Linked DNA regions of Homo sapiens: all the other regions are linked to region 1. Evidence: promoter capture Hi-C in human tissues and cell types (Jung and others, 2019). All regions are on one chromosome and are shown on one strand. The core of a region is centred on a gene start or on the middle of the fragment in contact, and the rest is flanking DNA. Distances in the headings are between cores, read along the strand shown.

Evidence for each region. The method cuts DNA at HindIII sites, captures the fragments that hold promoters and counts their contacts. A contact is called where the count stands out against the background at its distance.
Region 2: a contact is called between a fragment that was not itself captured here and the fragment with the promoter of ST6GALNAC2 in region 1, in 1 of the 25 tissues and cell types used here (spleen).
Region 3: a contact is called between a fragment that was not itself captured here and the fragment with the promoter of ST6GALNAC2 in region 1, in 2 of the 25 tissues and cell types used here (H1 embryonic stem cells and dorsolateral prefrontal cortex).

What each region holds. Positions count from the first base shown.
Region 1 is chr17:76,584,588-76,587,571 of GRCh38, forward strand. It overlaps ST6GALNAC2 (ST6 N-acetylgalactosaminide alpha-2,6-sialyltransferase 2), which reads right to left and starts at 1,273. Exons shown (of 9, transcript NM_006456.3): 1 at 1,097-1,273. The coding sequence starts at 1,221. RefSeq lists silencers at 1,030-1,369, 1,420-1,709 and enhancers at 1,578-2,259, 2,260-2,940. The HindIII fragment of the contact is 21,800 bases long and covers 1-2,984 here.
Region 2 is chr17:76,712,179-76,715,607 of GRCh38, forward strand. It overlaps a transcript of JMJD6 not described here. Among named protein-coding and RNA genes, the nearest start is that of MXRA7, 2.9 kb to the left of the region's middle. The HindIII fragment of the contact is 3,371 bases long and covers 355-3,429 here.
Region 3 is chr17:76,439,875-76,443,224 of GRCh38, forward strand. All of the region lies in intron 1 of UBE2O (ubiquitin conjugating enzyme E2 O), which reads right to left. Among named protein-coding and RNA genes, the nearest start is that of UBE2O, 12 kb to the right of the region's middle. RefSeq lists enhancers at 1,177-1,694, 3,119-3,238. The HindIII fragment of the contact is 6,251 bases long and covers 1-3,350 here.

The sequences.
Region 1 (2,984 bases), core at 23-2,522:
CACCTCCGCCTCCCAGAGTGCTGGGACTACAGGCGTTAAGTCACCGTGGCGGGGCAAGCACCCTTTGTTCTAAGAGTGCTGGACTCCTGATCACTGGCAAGCTGTTTCACATTGTTCTGCAACTTTTGGTGTATCCTTTGACAGCATCTGTGGAGACCAGATACTTATTTTGTTTTCATCCCGTTAGCCCCCCAGCAAGGTTGGTAGGGGGTGCGCAGATGGAAAAGCTCCAGGAAGGGAAAGGCTGGGGCTGGAGGCCTCTCCCTGAGGCTGCCGGGCCCTTCCCTCCTCCCAAACCCAGACTTCGCACGGCTTGGTCCGCCTTTCTTAAGCTAAGCGAAATCGTTTTGCGGCTTCTTCAGTCACCGGAACCACCACCTGCTAGAGGCCGGCTCCCAGGTTCTCCTCGTGGGACACCCAGGAAAGTGCCTAGGGAGGAGGAGGGAGTGGAGCGCAGGACGCGGCGCGGGGAGGAGAACGCGGATGGAGCCAGGAGTCACCCCTCTTTCCCTCGGGCGCCCGCCTCTTCGCGGATCGCGCCCGCACTGGGCTTATCCAGACACGGCGAGCGGAAGCCGGGGAGAAGGGAGCGGGCGCGGGGCGGACAGAGACCGCAGCGGGCGGGAAAGGCGACTGGCCGCGGCCCGACGGAGGGTCCCCGCGAAGTTGGAAACCGGAGACTTGGGCCCCTGCCCAAAAAGCAGAATCTGACGTTACCGAGGGAGAGTTCCCGACAAAAAAGGAAGTTTTTATCTGCTTCGGGGACCCAGCCAGATTTCGACAATAGAAAGTGTACTTATCAGGCCGGGGAGGACTTCACCAACAAGGGGCACCGGGGCGGGTCGCCAGTGCACAGGGGCGAGGTCTTCCTTGGACCCAGGCAAAGGCCGCGGGGTCCGGGCAGCGCGAGGTCAAGGCTGGGAGAGGGTTCTGGCGACAAAGGGCCGCGGCCGAGTCCTCGCTGAGAGCTGCCCCAGAGGGGTCCACGCGGAGGTTGGGCTGAGGGCTGCGGGCCGCCGGGGAGCCCTGGGCTGGGGACCCTCCCCGCGCCCTGGTCGCCCCTGCGCCCTCCCGCTCTGCGCTCGGCAGCCCCTACCTGGCTCCGGCCGCTGGCCCCGGGTACCGCTGCACCGCCGAGAAGTACAGGGCAAAGAGGAGCCCCGAGCAGGCAGCCGTGAGCAGGAGCAGCAGCCAGAAGAACGACCCGCGCGGGAGCCCCATACAGCCCCGGCCCGCGAGCGCCCCGTCCGCTGACGTCCCAGGCAGAAGGGAGAGAACCGGGTGGGCCGGGTGGCACTTGCGGAGGCGGCCGTCTTGCCCTGCCCCGCCCTGCCCGCCGGGTGCCTGCGGCGCCTGCCCGCCCGGCAGCTCCCTCTCGGCCCCGGCTGAGTGGCCAGAGGCTGCCGCACCCTCGGGAGCTGGGCGGCGGGTCCCCCGGGGCTGGAGTGTCGTCCCGGCGCCCAGAGCGCGCGCTCCTTTGGCCCTGCCCCCTGCCCGGGGGACTTCGGCAGCGGCCACTCCTGCCACTGCGCTCTCTCCAGAGCCCAGCCCCGGGAGGCCGCCAGTCTCGGGTTGGGCAGGGCGCTTTCCTCGCGCCGTCCGGGGCTAGCTAGGCGCGGGTAGACGCCGCCACCTGCTGCGCTGGCTGCGCTCTGCCCTCTGCGGGCCCGGCACTCGGCCTCTAGACTCTGTGGCGGGTGGGCGGCGGCCGGGAGGAGATGTGCCCGGCTCCCTCCAAAGGACCCTCAGATCTGTCAGTCTGCGGACGCCAGGACAGCTGGGAGGGGGCGGGCAGGGTGGAGGAGCAAAACCCGACAGCTCAGTCTCTGGGCTGGCGGTAGAGGGGGGAAAAGGGGGTGAGGTGGGGAGCTTGCCGTGATGGGTTTCGTGGGGGAGCTAAGGCTGTCAGCGCTTATTTGGTAACCATCCAGGGTGGCCAGTCCCCTCAATCGCATTGAGTTCCTTTCACAGAACGAGGCCAGTCAGAGAGACCACCTGAAATGTTCAGCACAACGGGTTCCCAAACTTATTGGCACCAGGGACTGGTTTCCTGGAAGACAATTTTTCCACGGAGGGGGGTGGGGGTGGGGGGGTTGGGGATGAAACTGTTCCACCTCAGATCATCAGGCATGAGTTAAGATGCTCTCATAAGGAGCCCGCAACCTAGATCCCTGGCATGCGCATTTCACAAAAGGGTTCGCACTCCTTTGAGACTCTAATGCCGAGGCTGATCTGAAGGAGGCGGAGCTCAGGCGGTAATGCTCCTTCCCCCTCCACTCACCTCCTGCTGCGATGCCCTGTTCCTAACAGGTCTCGGACCAGGCTTGGGATTGGGGACCCCTGGTCTAGCAGGCTCCAGCATCAGAAAGGGCTGGGAAGCTCAGCACCCGTGCTCTCTAAGTGGAACACTCCCTGGCAGTGAGTGATGGATGAGATGGGTGTGCTTCAGTGGCCACTGTTCGGCAAGCTGTGACATGCGGCAGGCTGTGACATGCCCCAGACTCCCAACTGTCAGCAGGCTGCAAGGATGAGAGGGACCTAGGCTACCGTGTCACGGGCCTTTGGCTCTAATCTGTTCTTCATGTATCCGAGGAAGTCTGGGTGCAGCAACAGGTACCTGTCTGATTGCAAGGCTTCCCGAAAACCTCCCAGGGCCTGGGCCTGTGGTCAGGAATGGCCATTCAGTCCATCCAGTCTCAGTACTCCTACCAAGTCAGGGTCACTGGAGGTCACTCACATTGGGCCAGTTCTTTCCTTCACCCCAAGACTGCTCAGCAGAGCCAGACTCATCTTGCTACCCCGCAGATGGGCACTACTTGGAATTTATGGTGTCACGACTTTCATTTCAATCTTTATGGGTTTACTTGTCAAAATTCCTGTAGATGTTACTTATCCCCTGATCACTGGCTTCTCACATTTCCTCAGACCTTCTCTCTGTGCCCATAAATATCCCTCCTAGCCCTTGCTCTCAGTAAGTGCCTTAC
Region 2 (3,429 bases), core at 790-3,289, 130 kb after region 1:
CTATTTTTTTTCTTTTGAGATGGAGTCTTATTCTGTTGCCCAGGCTGGAGTGCAGTGGCGCAATCGCGGCTCACTGCAACCTCCACCTCCCGGGTTCAAGCGAAACTCCCACCTCAGCCTCCTGAGTAGCTGGGATTACAGGCGCCCACCACCATGCCCGGCTAATTTTTTTCTGTTTTTAGTAGACAGGGTTTCACCGTGTTGGCCAGACTGGTCTTGAACTCCTGACCTCAGGCAATCTGCCTGCCTCAGCCTCCCAAAGTGTTGGGATTACAGGCGTGAGCCTCCGCGCCCAGCCAATTTTTTTTTTTTTTTTTTAAAGAGACAGGGTCTTTCTTTCTTTTTTTTTTTTTAAAGAGACAGGGTCTCACTATGTTGCCCAGGCTGGAGTGCAGTGGCTATTCACAGGCATGATCATAGCTTTCTGCAGCCTCGACATCCTGGGCTCAAGTGATCCTCCTGCCTTAGCCTCTTGGGCAGCTGGGATTACAGGTGTGCATCAATGCTCCTGGCCCAGGGCCTTAATTTTGTGCTCCATCCCATTGTTTTAAAGTGTAAATACATTTTTTTAAAGTCCTGTTCTGCTGACAAAGTACATTGTTGACTTTCAAATGAGTAAGAAAGAAAATAAGGACAAAACAATGCCAAAAACACAACTCCAAATCATGTTGCTTTATTTAAAATGATGAACAAGTTTCACCCAAGTGAAAGTTTAAAATACCAACCCAATAGCAGATCCACAGGCTTTCATGGCAGACCCCATGGCTAGACGGACGCAGAACTAGGAGACTGCTCAGTGTTCTGACAACTCCAGGAGGCACGAGTGTGCAGAAGACAGTCCCAGTTCTTCTGTAGCATCCAGTCACTTTGGAGACAGCTGGCCAGGGCTAGCTCTCCTCCCAGGAGGTTCACTGGGGCTTAGATGACATTTCTTTTTTTTTAAAGACAGAGTCTCGGTCTGTCACCCAGGCTGGAGTGGCTTGATCTCAGCTCACTGCAACCTCTGCCTCCTGGGTTCAAGTGATTCTCCTGCCTGAGTTGACCAAGTAGCTGGGACTACAGGCATGTGCCACCACACCTGGCTAATTTTTGTATTTTTAGTAGAGACGGGGTTTCACCGTGTTGGCCAGGCTGGTCTTGAACTCCTGACCTCAAGTGATCCACCTGCCATGGCCTCCCAAAGTGCTGGGATTACAGGGGTGAGCTACGGCGCCTGGCCGAAATTTCTGAACAATGAGACAAAGTTGAGAGCCACCGCCTGGGGGTGCAAGCTCACCTAGTTTTGCTGCATAGGATGTCACATCTTGACACAAGCTAGTGGGAGGGGAGTGTGGAAGAAGCCGCCAGACTCCACTTCAAATCTACCAGCAATACCAGTACACACATCAAAAACAACTTACTCGTGGAAATACTACAGACAATCTAAAGAACCTACAGCTGGGGCATCCTTATACGCCTTCCTCCTACACAGCATTTTTTACATTTACTGCAAAAATTTTGTTCCATCCTATACTCGTCTAAAGTCCTAAATCCAAGGCTCAGTCTCTAGTAAGCTTATAAAGCATTTGCACCAGCAACCTTCCCACAGATCCTTAGTTTTGCTACTTTATGAAGAAGCTGTTACTACCTTAAGTATACATTGGTGTTAATTATGCTCTTTCATGTAGATCCGTTACACCTGCATTTAAGAAGGTCTGCACTTTCTTCTACCTGCCCTCACCAGCGGCCCTGTGAACAGCCGCAACAGCCGCACATTCACTGTCCATTAAGCTTGTGGAGCTTGTCAGGGACCTGGGCTTGTCACCGTTATCTCCAGCACCTCAAGAGCAGTGCCTGGCCCTCAAACACCTATTGAACGCTTGAATTATTAAGACACGGACAGCTGCAAGAATACAGCAAAATGTGAATGTCCCTCTTTTCAGTGGCTCTCCCCTCAAGGATGTCACCCTAAACATCCCAGTACCACTAATGGCAGAGGCATGTGTGTGAAGCATGGATTCTTCCAGCTGATGGTGAAGCCTCATCCCCAAAGACCCAGGGTCCTCCTGATGTTCTAGGTCCCCAACTCTTCTCTCTCCCACTCTGGTCCTTCCATCAGAAGTTAATAATCCAAGATCCCTTCTTCCAGGACCCAGCTCTTTGGTTTTAAGATCTGCTGTCATCTTGGAGAATCATCCCTGAAAATAATCTAACATTATCTCCTTCACTTTACTGTTGTTGGCACCATTCAATGGAGTAGCTCACGCCAGATGGGAAGAGGAGTTAACTTCTGAACAAGTGGTCTCTGGGTACCCACTCTTCCTAGTCTACCTTGGCCACCCGCCACCACTCCACTCCTTTTCCACACACGGTTTCCCCACCTTGCCCCTGTTGTGCTTACATAACGGACAGCCTGGCTAGCCCACAGAGACAGTAACGGGGGTTGGGGAATAGGGCTGCTGAATCCCTGGCCTGGCAGGAATAAACAAAGCATGTCCCAGGAGCACAGAATCTGTACTATCCAGACACTGTACTATCCAGAGCTGACTTGGGCCTATCAGATATGTTATTCCCCTCATTTCTGGAATACTGTTATCAAACAGGAATCAACTTTAGCATCTGGAGAAAGAAAACTGGGTGGCTAATCTTTATTTTCTAGATTATTATTTTTTTGAGAGATGGGATCTCACTATGTTGCCCAGACTGGTCTTGAACTCCTGGACTCAAGCAATCCCCCTGCCTCAGCTTCCCAAAGTGCTGGGATTACAGGTGTGAGCCACTGCACCTGGCCTTGGTGGCTAATTTTTAAAATTCAAAATTTCTGCTCCCCTATCCAGACCACTGGCAACGTGTCCTACCACGCCCCCTGGTGGCAAAGAGCCTTTTTGGGCTGTTTTTTATTTTAAACTGAAGTTTAGAGGAGTTGTTGATAGAAAACTGAAAGGAAGGTAAGGAAAAAGGGCAAGCGTGGCAGCACAGGAGCAATGCTGGGAAAAAGAAAAAAGCTTTTTATAGATGGCAAGAAAAGTCTTTTTAAAAAGCAGGAGTAGCAACACCACTCAGATATTACTACCAAGAGATTATACATTCAGAGTTTGACTTTACTCACACCCAAACACATCCTGTGCCCACCACAGAACCAAGGGGGCTGTGGGCGTGGGGGTAAGGAGGGAGAGCAGCCCCCATGGCAGGCAGGCAGCACAGTTCTACCTACCCAGCCACATACTGGGGTTGGCATTTGAGGATGCAGAAAATTGAACTAAGACAAAAATAGAGAACCAGCCTCCTAGAGTAAAGCCACATGACCCAATGTCAGGAAATGACAGTCTGTTAATAACAGTGAGCAGAGACCTGTATTTTCCTGGTTACACCTGTTTCTAGTGGATATTTTGAGAGGCAACAGCACACAATTCTAACACATCCACACACAGCCTCCCTGCCTGTGAACAC
Region 3 (3,350 bases), core at 347-2,846, 140 kb before region 1:
TGCAGGTGGAACTAGGCTCTCGCTCCCTTATGTGCATCAGTCATTCACCCACTAATTCCACTCATTCGCATGTGTGCAATCTGCCATTTCCCAAGTGCTCACTAAACAAATCTCTCCTAGCACCTACTTTGGGCCAGTCACTGAGGATATAGCAGTGACAGAGATGCTTCTGTGCTTCTCTTACCTTCCGGCTGGGGACAGTAAACAGGACATGAAGTAGTATAATCTCAGGTAATGCCAGGTGCTATGAGGGAAAAAAGCTGAGTAGGAGATCACAGCGATGGTTCTCTCTCCTATCTAAGTCTCTGAAGCAGTGCTACCCAATCCAGTAGCCACTATGGTAAAAAGAACGCACAGTCTCTCATTAGTACTTATCATATGAGTTATATGTTGATATAATATTTTGAATACATTGGGTTAAGTAAAATATATTAAAATTAATTTCATCTCTTTGTTTTTTTTACTTTGAGACAGGGTCTTGCTCTGTTGCCTAGGCTTAAGGGCAATGGGTCGCACGATCACGGCCCATTGCCACCTCGACCGCCAGGACTCAAGCGATCCTCTCACCTCAGCCTACTGAGTAGTTGGGACTACAGGCGTAAGCTGCCACGCTAAGATGATTTCTGTACTTTTTGAAGAGATGGGGTTTCATCATGTTGCCCAGGCTGGTCTCGAACTCCTGGCCTCAAGTGATCCGCCTGGCTTGGCCTCCCAAAGTGTTGGGATTATAGCCATGAGCCACCATGCCTGGCCTCTATTTACTTTTTTCAGCTGTGGCTCACATTGTATCTCTATTTTTCAGGATCCTTCCAGAGCAGAGGTGGGAAAACTACAGCCTGCAGGTCATGTCCAGCCTACTGCCTGTTTCTTAAAATTTTATTGGAACATGACCATGCCCATTCATTTGCTTACTGCCTCTGAATGCTTTTGTGCTATAATGGCAAAGCTGAGTTGTTGTGAAGGAGACAGTATAGCCTGCAACACTAGGACATTTATCATCTGGCCCTTTACAGAAAGTTTGGCTGGCCCCTTATCTAGAGGGCAGGGCCTGTGTGGGGGTATCTCTCTCCCCACAGCACCCAGCACAGTGCAGGGGGCACCCGTGTAGTCAGTGAAGAGAACCTGCATTCGGGCAGCACAAACTGGCCTAAGTTTGAATTTGGGTTGGCCTCCCACTTGCTATGTGGCCTTGGTGAGTTATAAGCTTTCTCTGGGTTTCAGTCTTTCCTTTTCTAAAATGGGGCACTGGCCACTTTAAGGGAAGTGAGATGACACAGGTAAAGTGTGAGTTAACATGCCTGGCTCACAGCAGGAATCCATTGACACTGGCTGGATAAAAGACAGCAATTTCATTAAAATGCTGAATAATCATTCTCCTCTTGGATTGGGTGTGTTATACTCAAAACAACTACCATATTTACATCCTAAAATGAAATGAAATCAAATGAAACTTCTTAGCAACAGCAGTGCATTAATAATAACCACCAGCAAGCAATGGGGAGGAAGAAAGAGGCAAGCCTTTCTAACACTAAAGCACTGGCGGATGATGAGTCCGCCTCATCCCTTTCCTGCCCCTCCTGCAGCCCACCTTTGGACAATTCCCGGTTCATTAACACTGGCACTAGAAGAATAAGCAGAGGGGAGAGAAAAAGCCTCGAACCAAAGACGTACTAAAACTGAACCCATTGACATCAACGAGGTTTGGAAGGGCCCATATAAGTGCAATTCAAAAGACAGTCCCAGCCAGCAGCATCAATGTCACTGGGAGTTTGTTAGACACGCAGATTCTTCAGCCCAATGGAATTAGGACAATTTGCATTAGGAGACCCTAGGTGATGGCATGTGGCATTCACCTTGGAAAAGTGCTGGATTAGAATCCATTTATTCATGCTCTCTTCACTTCCCCCTCCCCCTCCACTGATAAACAGGGGTGGTTATATCTACTTTCAATAGATGGTTCCTGACTCCTTCAAAGTAATAGGCCTGGCATAGCCACTGCAACTCCAGGCCCCGCCCCCAAGGGTCTTGGTGCAGGCAGAGTGCATAGCCTAAGCTGCGTTCCTGATTCATTTGCAGTCGGGTGGGGCATTCTTTTTCCAATAGAGAGCCTCGTTCGTACTTAGCCATCCTCCTAAGGTGAGGACTGGGTGCTGATAACCATTCAGGAAACCCACGTGTGTGGAATCTGCCATTTGTCAAGTGCTTTAGGCGGGGTTCTTACAGGGGAAATGCAGCCAGAAGCAGCTTCATTTCGACCACAGGTGACACCAGCTCTAGCTAGCTCTAGCCTAGTCCACAATGCACGTAGTCTGCCTGGGGAGCCCGCGACGGAAGTTGCCAAAGTAGTAACTACAATATGGTGTATTCTGATTAATCTGCTCTTCCTAGTATTAGGATGCCCATACGTCCCAGTCCTGGAGTAATTATTCATAGTACTCTCAAAAGAACCCAACTTGGGCAATAAATTACTGTACATGGTCAACACACCTAGTACGGGGGGTGGGAGACAGAGTGGTCTAGTAAGGGGCCCATACAGCTCCAGCACAGACCACAGGGCATCTGGAAGAAGACTAAGAATACTATTTGTAGTAAGTGGGAGGGAGCAAACTGGTCATTCATGAAGATGTTTCCCAAGAGTCTGCATGTGCGTGATAGCACACAAGCTTTAGGATTTGCTGTCTCTGTTTCTCAAGGAGCTTCCCATCCAGGAGAGAATGTGGGTGTGCCATGGGGCATGAGAGGAAGGGAACGGCACAATTGAGTTGGGGAAAAGCAGTCAGATTGGCTGGAATCAACTGAAGAGGCAGGAGATAGAGCAGGATGTGTAGGTGAGGGGCCCTGAATGACAACCAAGGCATGATCAGAGGCTGGGTCCTGACACAATCCAGGCGATCACTTGGGAGGTCAGCCCTTTGGAGGTCAGTTGGCGGCAGCGCTGTTCACTGGTTGAAGGAGGACTAGAGGCAGGGAGACCAGGGAGAAGGCTACACAGTGCAGGCATGAGGCAAGCAGAGAGCAAACCAGGGTTGTGAAAGGGAAATGCAGGCACAGGATGCAAGAGGCCTCTCAAAGAACTGATGACAAGTTAGAATGAGGGCCAAAGAAGGTAAATTAAAAATGACCCCAAATGCTCTAATTTTGAGAAGATTCAAGCTTAGGTATTTAGGGGTGAAGTGCTATCATGTCTGCCACTAACTTAGCAGGAGTTAGTACCAGACATAATTCAGGAGGAAATATATTTACATAAGCATACAGATAAGGCAAATATGGCAGGATGTTAACAACTGCTGACTCATAATGGTTGGGGGTTAGCAATTACTGGCTTTCAACATTTTGGTATGGTCAATATT